Regions from separate parts of the Homo sapiens genome. Here region 2 is linked to region 1. The links are contacts of gene promoters, found by promoter capture Hi-C in blood cells and fetal thymus (Javierre and others, 2016). All regions are on one chromosome and are shown on one strand. Each heading gives the region's core, a stretch centred on a gene start or on the middle of the fragment in contact. The rest is flanking DNA. Distances are from core to core; before and after follow the strand shown. Region 1 holds the start of SLC66A3 (solute carrier family 66 member 3). Region 2 overlaps E2F6 (E2F transcription factor 6).

The links. Contacts are between HindIII fragments. The CHiCAGO score rates a contact against its expected background, and 5 or more counts as called.
Region 2: a fragment that was not itself captured here is called in contact with the fragment with the promoter of SLC66A3 in region 1 in 1 of 17 cell types (M2 macrophages); the score reaches 7.1 in M2 macrophages.

What each region holds. Positions count from the first base shown.
Region 1 is chr2:11,153,164-11,159,347 of GRCh38, forward strand. It overlaps SLC66A3 (solute carrier family 66 member 3), which reads left to right and starts at 2,304. Exons shown (of 7, transcript NM_152391.5): 1 at 2,304-2,526. The coding sequence starts at 2,384. It also overlaps a transcript of CIMIP5 not described here. RefSeq lists silencers at 1,891-2,370, 2,481-2,720, 5,381-5,629. The HindIII fragment of the contact is 10,263 bases long and covers 1-6,184 here.
Region 2 is chr2:11,439,419-11,445,779 of GRCh38, forward strand. E2F6 (E2F transcription factor 6) reads right to left here. Exons shown (of 7, transcript NM_198256.4): 7 at 4,957-6,361. Among named protein-coding and RNA genes, the nearest start is that of E2F6, 24 kb to the right of the region's middle. The HindIII fragment of the contact is 7,403 bases long and covers 79-6,361 here.

The DNA of each region.
Region 1 (6,184 bases), core at 1,054-3,553:
TTCACGCAAAGTAGCCAGGGAGGGGTCTAGGAGCCAGGAAGAAACCTCTTCCACAGCCCTGCCTCACCCAGCTGACCCCCAGAGCAGGCGGCTGCAGTGTCCTGGGCCAGGAGCAGCATTTGTTCCACAATGGAGGAGGCCACTCCCTGCGTGGTCCTGGGGGCACTCATACCTCTCAAAGGCCCCTCATGCTGCCTGCATCCCCAAGTGCTAGCGCAGGCTGACCCCAGGTGGGAGCAGTTCCCTCCTAAGGCTAGTCCTGGGGGCCCAGATCCTGGCCAACCCCTGGAATAAAGGCTGGGGCAGAAGGGGAAGAGGAGGGAGGGGGATTCCACTGCCATGTGGCAGGAACCAGGCACTTCCAACCAGGACCACCTCCTTGCATCAAGGGACCTATCACATGGCATGATGAAAGTAAAACACCTGGCACGCAGGAGGCACTCAACAGGTTCTAGATGTTCCTATAGTCATTGCTGCTGATGCTTGTTAAAAAGCTCTTTACGCTGGGCGCGGTGGCTCATGCCTGTAATCCCAGCACTTTGGGAGGCCAAGGCAGGTGGATCACCTGAGGTCAGGAGTTCGAAACCCCGTCTGTACTAAAAATACAAAAATTAGCCGGGAGTGGTGGCACATGCCTGTAATTCCAGCTACTTGGGAGGCAGAGGCAGGAGAATCACTTGAACCCCGGAGGTGGAGGTCGCAGTGAGCAGAGATCGTGCCACTGCACTCCAGCCTGGGCGACAAGAGTGAAACTCCGTCTCAAAAAAAAAAAAAAGCTCTTCTCTATTTTCTTCTTCAAAAAATTTATATACATATTATTTATTTATTTTTGAGACAGGGTCTGGCTCTGTCTCCCAGGCTAGAGTGAAGTGGCGCGATCTCGACTCACTGCAACCTCCGCCTCCTGGGTTCAAGCCATCCTCCTGTCTCAGCCTCCCGAGTAGCTGGGACCACAGGCACGCGCCACCACGCTCGGCTAATTTTTGTATTTTTAGTAGAGGCGGGGGTTTCCCTATGTTGCTCAGGCTGGTCTTGAACTCCTGGCCTCAAGCAATCTTCCCGCTTCGCGGGGTCAATAACGATCAGTATCGATCTAGCCAGGGCAGGTCCAAGCCGTTTCCTTTAAGGGTTCCCTTCTGAACATCCTTTTCTCATTTAGACTTGGGAGGCAGGACTCAGCACCTGTTTTTTTTTTTCCATAGGCGGAGGTGATGGGCCGGTGAGGCTGGAGAGAAAGAGCCTCGGCCAGAATTCCGAACTCCGAAGCTGACCCAGCTCCCGTCCCTCACACTTCCCGGCTGAGATTTATGGCACAAAACCAGGGATCGTGGATTCTGGCATTGCATTTTGGTGCTTTTTTGCCTGCTTCATAACCAGGCCCTAATACACAGGCGATTTTCAGAGGTTGGAAAATGCGTCCTTCCCTTTCCCTCAGTTTGTGGCTTAGACGGCCACGTCCAAGTTACTTTATCAGGAGAAATCCTTAAGAAACAGTTTCACTGTGAAGTGCTCAAGTTCAAGGCTTCCGGTGGCCCCTCAGGGCCCACGCCGCTAGGAGGGAAGCCTTCAGTCCCAGGCTGGAGACAGGCCGCGTGCTCTGAAAGGGCACAAATGAGGCGACCCTGGGGCTCTGGTCCCAGAAAGTCTCTCCAGCCTGGTTCCCCACCTGTAAGTCGGGAGGGTGCACTCAGCCCTTAAGCAGGAGGCTTTAACTCCTGAAATGCTTAGTGAGAGAAACTAAAACACTTGCAGGGAGGGAAAAATCCCGGCAGAATGGCCCATCCCCCGGGGCCATTTGCCTCTCGGTCCACCCAACCCGTGGAAAAGCCGGACTTCCAGGGCGGCTCCCGGCGGCGGCTAAACTATCGGGTGGCAAGAACGCGGAAATGCGAAGCAGCTGCTGGTGGAGCCCGCAGGCCAGGGTGGGACTGTCGCCCGGGGCGGGGCTAGGAGGGGAGGGGCGGGGCGAGGAGGGGCGGGGCGAGGCGAGGTTGGCCACGGGATTGGGCTAGGTGAGGCCGACCGGGAGGGGGCGAATCTGGGGGCGGGGCGAGATGAGGGTAGTCCGAGGACTGAGCGAGCCCGGGCGGGCCCGTAGGCGAGGCGAGATGAGGCTGGCCAGGGGGCGGGGCGGGCCCGGGCGGGAGGGGCGGGGCGGGGCGGGCCCGGGCGGGAGGGGCGGGGCGGGCCCGGGGGCGGGGTGCGTCCAGGGGAGGGGCGGAGCGAGGCGGGTCCGGGGCCTGGCGGCGCGCGGAGGGGCGGGCCCTGGCCGGGTGGTCCCGGGCGGATCCCGGGAAGGCGGAAGGCTTCGGCAGAGCTGCGCCGCCGAGGCTGAGCGGTCCCTTCTCGCTGCGGCCGCCCAGGTGCCCGCGCCCGTGGCGCTATGGAGGCGGCGCTGCTGGGGCTGTGTAACTGGAGCACGCTGGGCGTGTGCGCCGCGCTGAAGCTGCCGCAGATCTCCGCTGTGCTAGCGGCGCGCAGCGCGCGGGGCCTCAGCCTTCCGAGTTTACTTCTGGAGCTGGCAGGGTAAGGCCCGGGGCGGCCGGGGCTGCCTCCTGCCCCCTCGCAGCTGCTGCCGGCTGGGAGCCCAGGAGAGCCTCGGCTCGAAGTAGGGCGGGGATGATCCCCGCGCGCCGGCGTCGCAGCTGGGCGGCCGAGGGTGAACTAGGGAGCCTAGGGGCTCGGGGTGCTCTTCCCACGGCCACCCGCCACCCGCGTACATTGTTTCTCACCAAGCCCCGCGTGGCACGAATTGATTGCGCACGCCCATTTTACAGATGAGAAAACAGACCCAGCGGAGGCAGCCCTTGGTGCGCTAGTGACAAAACCTGCTGGCCCTGAGCAAGGCCATTTGCACCTCGAGGCTGTCATATTCATTGTCCCTAAACTCACCACGCACCGTCAACCTCGTTCTCGGGCCTCGGTTTCCTCACCTGTGAAATAAGGGGTTGAACTAAGAATGTATGAATCTCTTCTCTTCTCCCGGTGATTGGTGGGGAATCTTTCCTGGTTATTTAATGAGATTCCTTGGGAGAGGGTCTTAAGACAATTGCATTTCTTGTAGAAAGAAGTTTCCTTAGTCATCTGTAAGGAAGTTGGAGAGTCTCTGCAGTTGGGAAGGGGTGACGGAAAGGTCGTTAAATCCTTGATTCTGAGGCAGCTTCTAAGGCTTTCCTATTCAAAGTATTCATCATGCCAGAGCGCCAAACTTTTGGGGTATCATTTTTGAGCCCCAACAATAGGAAAACACATACCTCAACCTAGTGGTCTCGCCCCTTCCCCCTGGCCAGGCCAGGCCTTCCCCTTTGCCCCCCGCCATCACCCAGTGGGGTCTGAAGCCTGGTCCTCCACACAAGCCTTCCTGGTGGGCGGGGTGGGGGGTGCGGCATACAGGATGGGAAGAAGCCAAGGGGTGCGGGGGAGAAAGAGGAGACCTCAGGTGTGGGAGGGTGAGGGGTCCCACTCAGGCTTTGGACCCCGCGCCGGCCCTATGGAGCCCGGCCCTGGGCACAGTCATCCAATAGGGGGCTTTGAGGGGAAATTTTTGGGAAAGGCTTGCAGTGGGAGGGACTGTGACCTCTTCCAGGCTTGTGAGTGACTCTACCCTGCGGGGTGGGGAGGGGGGGGTCCCAGGCTGGATGGCAGGGTTGAGAGGCACCCAGGGGAGGTGGGCAGCATGCGTTTCAGGTTGGTGCCACCACCAGGCTGGGAGCAGAGAGGCTGGAGCGATGAGGTTGTGGCAAAGGACACAGGCTGGAAGTGGCTGTGGTGACTGTTCAGGTGGGAGAGGGGACAAGGGCATGAAAGCCAGGAGTGGGATTTGGCCTCGGCCCCTTGCTAGGTCCCTGAGCTGGGGAAGCTGAAGCTGGACCCATGAAGGAAAAGAAGCCAGGCTGTCTGTAGAGTCTATAGATTCCCTCCTGCCGCCAGCCCCTAGGCCTGCATTTCCACCACTTTTGCAGCATTGCTTGAAAAATGCAAACCCTCAGAGATACGCAGGTGAGGGCTCCTATTAGATCTGCCAGCTGTCACCTCTCCCAGCTCACCTTAGTGAAAGCTAGACCTCTGGCAGTGGAAGGATCTTCCTGGGCATGGGAGCTCAAGGGTTGGGTGGGGCAGCAGCTTGCTGCCATCCCTGCTGGCCTGTCTAAGGGTCTTGCAGTTGATCACGTGCAGGTAAAGGGGGCTCTGTCGGGGCTGGTGCACCAGCTCTGCAGCCTCCAAGCCAGGGCCAGGGCCAGGCACACAGACTTCTGTAAAATGGGCTTGGCTGTGTCAGGACCCATCCTCCTGGCCCTCCTGTCTCCCTGCCTGCCTCCCTCATGCCCTTCCCAGCCTTGCCTGGGAGGCCCACCTGGGGCTGGCCATGCTTGCCAGCTGGGCCCCCGGGCCCCTGACCAGATCAGGCAGCAGCCGGAGTTAGAGCAGAAGGAACCCCAGGGCTGTCGCAGTCAGCCACCTGGAGGGCACGGGCCCTCTTTGGGTCTCCATTTGAGCAAACTAAGAGCCTGGTTTTGAGAGCACTGAGTCAATTGGAGCATGAAGTGTGTCTTAATAATGCCAGAAAAGCCTTTTTAGTGTGGCTTGGTGTGAAGGGCAGGAGCCTCTGCCCAGGGACCTGCCTCTGCCACCCAGGGGCATTCCTTGTAGCTGGAGCCTTCCCCCTCGCAAGTTCCCAACCTTGCTGCTTCTCCTGCCTCCAGGGCTCTGCTGGGCTCTGCCTCCCTGCTCTCTGCAGCCAGGAGCCTCCTGGAGCACAAGATTCATCCAACCTGCCCTGCCTGCAGCCTTCCATGGACTGCGGCCCTCCCACGGTGGACCCTTAGGCTGTAGAGCCTTGGCCTCTGGGTAGGATGCCTTTGGAGCCCACCCCTTGCTCCAGGTCACTTGTCCCCCAGCCTGGGTGGGGGTACGTTTTGTTTAACCCTCTAGTAGGTGTTGAGGGAGAAAACTCCAATGGCTGCATGGAGCAGATGGGAATGGAAACAAATGGGGCTGTGTCAGATGCCCGGCTGGCATGATTTTATTATGATAAGCACTATAGCGATTACTTATTAAAAGAAACTTTAAAGGGACAGGCATGGTGGCTCATGCCTGTAATCCCAGCCCTTTGGGAGGCCGAGGCGGGCAGATAACCTGAGGTCAGGAGTTCAAGACCAGCCTTGCCAACATGGTGAAACCCCATCTCTACTAAAAACACAAAAATTAACCAGTGTAGGCTGGGTGCAGTGGCTCACACCTGTAATCCCAGCACTTTGGGAGGCCCAGGCCGGCGGATCACGAGGTCAGGAGATCAAGACCATCCTGGCTAACACGGTGAAACCCTGTCTCTACTAAAGATACAAAAAATTAGCTGGGCGTGGTGGCTGGCGCCTGTAGTCCCAGCTACTTGGGAGTCTGAGGCAGGAGAATGGCGTGAACCCGGGAGGCGGAGCTTGCAGTGAGCCGAGATCGTGCCACTGCACTCCAGCCTGGGTGACAGAGCAAGACTCCGCCTCAAAAAAAAGAAATTAGCCAGGTGTAGTGGCACACATGTAGTCTCAGCTACTCGGGAGGCTGAGCAGGAGAACCGCTGGAACCCGGGAGGTGGAGGTTGCAGTGACTGAGATCGCGCCACTGCACTCCAGCCTGGGCGACAGAGCAAGACTCCATCTCAAAAAAAAAGAAACATTAAAAACTAAAGGAAAGACACTGTCCCCACCCCACCTCCCCAGGCTGCAGGGATGGGGGGAGTTTGAATCCCAGGGAAAGCAGGGAGTAGACGGCAAAACCTGCAGGGGCAGCAACGGCTGCATCCAGATCAGCCTCGGGAAATCCAGGCTCTTCATCTTGTATGTTCTTGGTGTCTATGGGCCTCCATTTCCCCAAGTGGTCTGTAAGTTGTGGAGGCCAGCATGGATGACCCCTGAAGGTGAGAACGGGCTCTGACATCCCCAGGTTCTCAGGCCTGGCCTGTGGACTGTGGCTGCGTCCCAGGGGTCAGCACACACTTACTTCGATGGTGAAGACCCCCATAGCTTTTGTTCTTCAGCACTCAGTGGCTGGCTGTGGCCCCACAGAGGGGCTGGGGTGCAGCCTCCCCCTCTGCCAGCCCCCCTGGGCTCAATCTCCCAGGGGAACAGAGGGGGCTGCTCAGGAGGCTGGCAGGAGGAGAGTCCCTGCGGCAGGGCAGGGCAGAGGCACC
Region 2 (6,361 bases), core at 2,530-5,029, 290 kb after region 1:
CAAGCCCTTGGATCCTTGGATAGAATAAGCTCGGGCCTCAGCACCTCCTTAAACTCTAAAACATTAAACACCCCACAAAGCTTTTGTTTATATATGTATTATACTGACTGATATGTAAAGTATTGCACATTAAAACTAGGAAATTATATAAGTATTGCAAATTAAAACTAGGAAATTATATAAGTATTTAATCCATCTAAAAATAAAAATAGTAAACACAATACATGTTAAATATTTTTATGGAAAAAACTATGTTTTCCAAGACAAAAACAATTTAGTGAAGATGACACTATTTTACATTTCACAAATCTCTTAAAGTCTGGCCTAATAGAAGACAGATGGATTTTCCCGTCAGCTTGTGTGAATTCTGCTGTGATACGTTTTGGTTTACATACATAAAGAAAAGCCCAGCCTCATATAAATACGTAGTTGGAAAATGGAAAGTTGTTTTAATAGCCTCTTCAGATCCCAAAGGCCATCCTTCCTTGAAACTACATCAGAACTCGCCAAGTGGTAGCTTCAAGGTGAGTTGCAACCCTCCACCTCTGGGCGCCTTGCCTTCGAGACCTGTGGTCTGGGGCTGCTCCTCCGGCTGCGGTGACGGCCACCTTGCCTGACCCATGCCTTGGCTTTGGAGACTCGCATCTCCCAGGCCATACTGTCACTCTTCATCACTTCTCCCACTGCTTCTCCTTTATACTGTGTCCCCCTTTCTTCTCTCCCTGTCCTGTCATCCTGGCTCTTTCCTCCTTTTGTTTTTTGCTCCTTTCTTTACCTTCTCTCAGCAGATCTTCCCTTGCTTCTCTGGGCCCTCGCCTCCTGTCCTCTGAAGGCCAGGCTGAAAGCCCCAAACATCATCCCTTTCCCACCTGACTGGAGTGACAATAGGGCCTAAGGCCAACAAGGCACCAGGTCTGTCTTTAGCAGTCAGAGAAACTACAAAAGCAAAACATAAAGCCAGGAGAAGGCACTGCCTTAATCTGCAGCTAACGCCTGGCAAGGCCGGGGTGCACCGCTTGGAGGGTGGGGTAAGCCAATCCTAATAGAATCAAAAAGCCAACTTCGAAACACTGTAATACAATGGGTTGCTTTTAATGACCCAGGTGGTTTTATTCTGATTTTCATTTTTAATTATGTTAATCGAGTGGCCCATTTCTGAGATATGAAGAAACAGTTTCATGTATGAAAGTGAAACGCTGGTTCTGTCTTAAGCCCCTCAAGCCCTCAGCAGCACCATCATTCACTTGCTAACCTTGGGCATTCACTTGACTCCGCCAATACATGCATCCCTGGGGCCAAAACCATCAAAAGGGAGGCACAAAAGGAGTCATAGCTGTCTCAAGTACAGGGGGGCTCATCTTTTGCTGAGGCAAAGGACAATTAGTTAGATGTGCTTTAACTTTTAGCAAAATGCAAATTTGGCAATCTTTTTTTCATTACAAATTCCGTTAGTTACTGAAGTCATCGTTTTTTTTTTATTTTTTATTTATTTATTTATTTTTTTAACTTTAGATGGAGTCTCGCTCTGTTGCCAGGCTGGAACGCAGTGGTGCAATCTCGGCTCACTGCAACCTCTACCTCCCAGGTTCAGGTGATTCTTCTGCCTCAGCCTCCTGAGTAGCTGGGACGACTGGTGCGTGCCACCAGGTCCGGCTAATTTTTGTATTTTTAGTACAGATGGGTTTCACCATGTTGGCTAGGATGGTCTTGATCTCTTGACCTTGTGACCTGCCTGCCTCAGCCTCCCAAAGTGCTGGGATTACAGGCGTGAGCCACCACGCTCGGCCTGAAGTCATCTTTTAAAAAAAATTCTCAGGGCCAGGTGTGGTGGCTCATGTCTGTAATCCCAGCACTTTGGGAGGCAGAGGCAGGCAGATCACTTGAGGTCAGGAGTTCGAGACCAGCCTGGCCAACGTGGTGAAATCCCACCTCTACTAAAAAAACACAAAAATTAGCCAGCTGTGGTGGCCCATGCCTGAAATCCCAGCTACTCTGGAGTCTGAGGCACGAGAATCACTTGAACCTGGGAGGCAGAGGTTGCAGTGAGCTGAGATCATACCACTGCACTCCAGCCTGTGTGACAGAGTGAGACTCCGTTACAAAAAAAAAAAAAAATTTCTTGGGAGTTGGGTCGAATGATGTAGTCAGGTCAGGTCACTTACCAACCAGCAACAACTTACTGAACATTGTATTAGTCCATTCTCATGCTGCTAATAAAGACATACCCAAGACTGGGTAATTTATAAAGGAAAGAGGTTTAATTGACTCACAGTTCAGCATGGCTGAGGCCTCAGGAAACTTACAATCATGGTGGAAGGGGAAGCAAACATGTCCTTCTTCACATAGTGGCAGGAGAGAGAAGAATGAGAGCCGATCCAAGGGGGAAGCCCCTTACAAAAGCATCGGATCTTGTGAGAACTTACTATCACGAGAACAGGATGGAGGAAACAGCCCCCATGATTCAATTTTCTCCATCTGGTCCCTCCCACAACATGTGGGGATTATGGGAACTATAATTCAAGATGAGATTGGGGTGAGAACACAGCCAAACCATATCATTCTGTCCCTGGCCCCTCCCAAATCTCATGTCCTCATAATTCCAAACATAACCCTGCCCTTCCAACAGTCACCCAAAGTCTTAGCTCATTCCAGCATTAACTCAAAACTCCAAGTCCAAAGTCTCATCTCAGACAAGGCAAGTCCCTTCCACCTATGGGCCTGTAAAACCAAAAGCAAGTTAGTTACTTCCTAGATACAATGGGGGTACAGGGATTGGGTAAATACACCCATTCCAAATGGGAGAAATTGGCCAAAACAAAGAGGCTACGGGTGCCATGCAAGTCCGAAATCCAATACGGCAGTCATTAAACCTTAAAGTTCCAAAATGATCTCCTTTGACTCCGTGTCTCCCATCCAGGTGATGTTGATGCAAGAGGTGGGCTCCCATGGCCTTGGGCAGCCCCACTCCTGTGGCTTTGCAGGGTATACCCCCACCCCCACCTTGGTTACTTTCACAGGCTGGTGTTGAGTGTCTGGGACTCTTCCGGGTGCACAGTGCAAGCTACCATTCTGGGGTCTGGAGGACGGTGGCCCTGTTCTCACAGCTCCACCAGGCAGTGCACCAATCGGGACTCTGTGTGGGGGATCCAACCCCGTATTTCCCTTCCACACTGCCCTAGCAGAGGTTCTCCAGAGAGCGAACTTCTGCCTGGACATCCAGGTGTTTCCATACATCCTCTGAAATCTAGGCAGAGGTTCCCAGACCTTAATTCTTGACTTCTGTGCACCCATAGGCCCAACACCATGTGTAAGCCAAGGCTTGGGGCTTGCACCCTCTGAAGCAACAGCCTGAGCTTTATGTTGGTCCCTTTTAGCCAAGGCTGGAGCTGAAGAAGCTAGGATGCAGGGCACCATGTCCCAATGCAGCATAGAGCGGGGGGTGGGGGGGGGGCCCTTATAGGCCCCCAGGCTTGTGATAGGAGGGGCTGCTGGAAGGTCTCTGACATGCCCTGGAGACATCTTCCCCATTCTCTTGGTGATTAACATTTGACGTTACTTATGCAAATTTCTGCAGCCAGCTTAAATTTCTCCCCAGAAAATGGAGTTTTCTTTTCTATCCCATCATCAGGCTGCAAAATTTTCCAAACTTTTATGCTCTGCTTCCTCTCGAACACTTTGCTGCTTAGAAATTTCTTCTGCCAGATACCCTAACTCATCTCTCTCAAAGTTCCATGCATCTCTACGGCAGAGGCAAAATGCTACCAGTCTCTTTCCATAGCAAGAGTGACCTTTACTCCCGCTTCCAATAGGTTCTTCATCTCCATCTTGACCACTTCAGCCTGGACTTCACTGTCCATATCACTATCAGCAATTTGTCAAAGCTATTCAACAAGTCTCTAGGAAGTTCTAAATGTTTCCCACATTTTCCTGTCTTCTTCTGAACCCTCCAAACTGTTCCAACCTCTGCCTGTTACTCAGTTCCAAAGTTGCTTCCACATTTTTGGGTATCTTTACAGCAGCACCCCACTCTCTGTGGTACCAATTTACTGTATTAGTCCATTCTCAAACTGCTAACAAAGACATACCCAAGGCTGGGTAATTTATAATGGAAACAGATTTAATTGACTCATAGTTCAGCATGGCTGGCTCAGGAAACTTACAATCATGGTGGAAGAGGAAGCAAATACGTCTTTCTTCATATGGTGGCAGGAGGGAGAATGAGAGCCGAGCGAAGGGAAAAGCCCTCTATTAAACCATTAGATCTCGTGAGAACTTACTATCACGAGAACAGGATGTAGGGAAACAGCTCCCATGATTCAGTTATCTCCACCTGGTCCCTCCCACGACACATGGGGATTATGGGAACTGCAATTCAAAATGAGATTTGGGTGGGGACACAGCCAAACCCTATCATACACTACATTAATATGAGAAATACCTATTAAGACATGAGCTTACACTCTGACAACATGGAATGGCAGCTGGGAACGTAGCCGCAGCAACTTATGAGGAAGGAAGATGGCCACCTGCGTGCTGTGTATAAACTGCATGCAGGGTAGGAGTAAAGGGGAGGCATGGGTGAAGCCAGGTCCAGAATAGGGATGCGATTTTGAAACACAGAGAACAGGAAGAGGATAGGATAAGAGCAAAGGCAGGGAGATGGGAAAGTTCACTGTGTGCTTCAGGTAGCGATGAGACCAATTTACTGGGGTGAAGGTCTGCAAGGCAGGTACCAAGGCAGGATTGGTAAGCAAGCCTTGGGCCCTTCTATATCCAGAGTCTGCACTTCGGCCTGAAGGAAACACGGATCGCTCAAGGTTTCTGAAGGAAGAAGCGGTGCGCACAGAGATGGGACAGTGAGGTTGGAAAGGTTAGGGTTAGTGAGGAGGAGGGGCCCAGAAACGAGTTCATGCTTATTTTATCCGTTTTAAGAATCAGAGACCCAACGCCAGAAGATGGAGTGACTCGAGAGATACTTCATTTATAACACACATCTGTAATTTACAAAGGATTTTCGTTTACATGATCTCATTTTACCTTCAGAACAATTTGTAAAGGAGAACATTTGCCACATTCACAAGTTAAGGAACTGCTGCTCAGAAATGATGGTATTACCTTTGGTAAAACCTTTGTTGGTTTTTGGGACACTGCCTTCTCCCTCCCCACCCGCCCCATTATTCCTTCTCAGGAGACTTCTTCTGTATTTCTCCTTAAATATAGATGCCCTTAGGCCTGCTGTACTCTTTAGATGACCTCTCCTACTCTTGTGGCTTAAACTATCGCATCTAAACTGACATCTGCCTGACGTACTACACAGCTCAGACTTTTCCGCTGAGCACCTGACCTACATACACACAACAACCTGCTCAACTCTTGCTTTCATCAAGCATGTCCCAAACCTAAGTTTTACCCTAGGCTTGCTCCTCCTCCTGTATTCCCTATTCTGTCAAACAGTACGACCCACCAGTCCAGTGATGATCAGCAGTGCCCCCTGCAGCTTTTCTTTGGCTAATTTCAAATAATAAAACAGAGGGAGGAAAAGCATTGAGGCTAACCGCTGGGGGAGGAGCACACTTCATCCCCAGGTGCACAGAAACACACCGGCAGGACTGCTGCAGGAAGGGCTGGTGCTCAGCAGAGGGACAGGACTGGCAAAAGCCACCAGAGCTCAGAGGTATGTGAATCCTAAACACTCAGCATTATTTTTTAATACTTTGATTTTGGATTCCGATTTTAAATCTTTTTAAACACAGTCTGAATTTGAAGTCGCTTCAAATATTTCTTTAAAAGCAATATTCAAACGATACAGGAATCTTGTACGATAGACAAACCAAATATTATTATTCTGATCTTACAATTCACTCACTCCACTCACTTATTTGTTCAGACATTTATTGAGCACTTCTTAAGGGCCAGGCATGGTGTGAGGCACTGGGATGTAACAGTGATTATGACAAAGTCCCTCAAGGAGCTCACAGTCTAATGGTAAACTACAGAGTAAACTGAGGCACAGAGTGGTAAATGACTTACCCAATGAGGTAGAAACAGCTAGGTATGTGAAAATGTGGGAGCAGAGCTGGAGAGAGGGCAAGGTACAACTTGTCCTAAGTAAAACCCCTTGGACTGACTCAACAGCAAGGCTGCATACACAAACATTACAAAATCTACTTGCAAAAACCTGAAAGGAGTTTCCAATTATCACCATGACTGAATTCATGTTTCACAATGAATTCAGCTATTTCCTGATGGCATTTCTATCCTTGCCCCCAAAGCCACTGGGCATGCCACCAGTCTGCTGGGAGACAGCAATTAGGTAGACAGCTTAAAACCAAGAAGTATCTGACTCCAATTTTAGCACTGA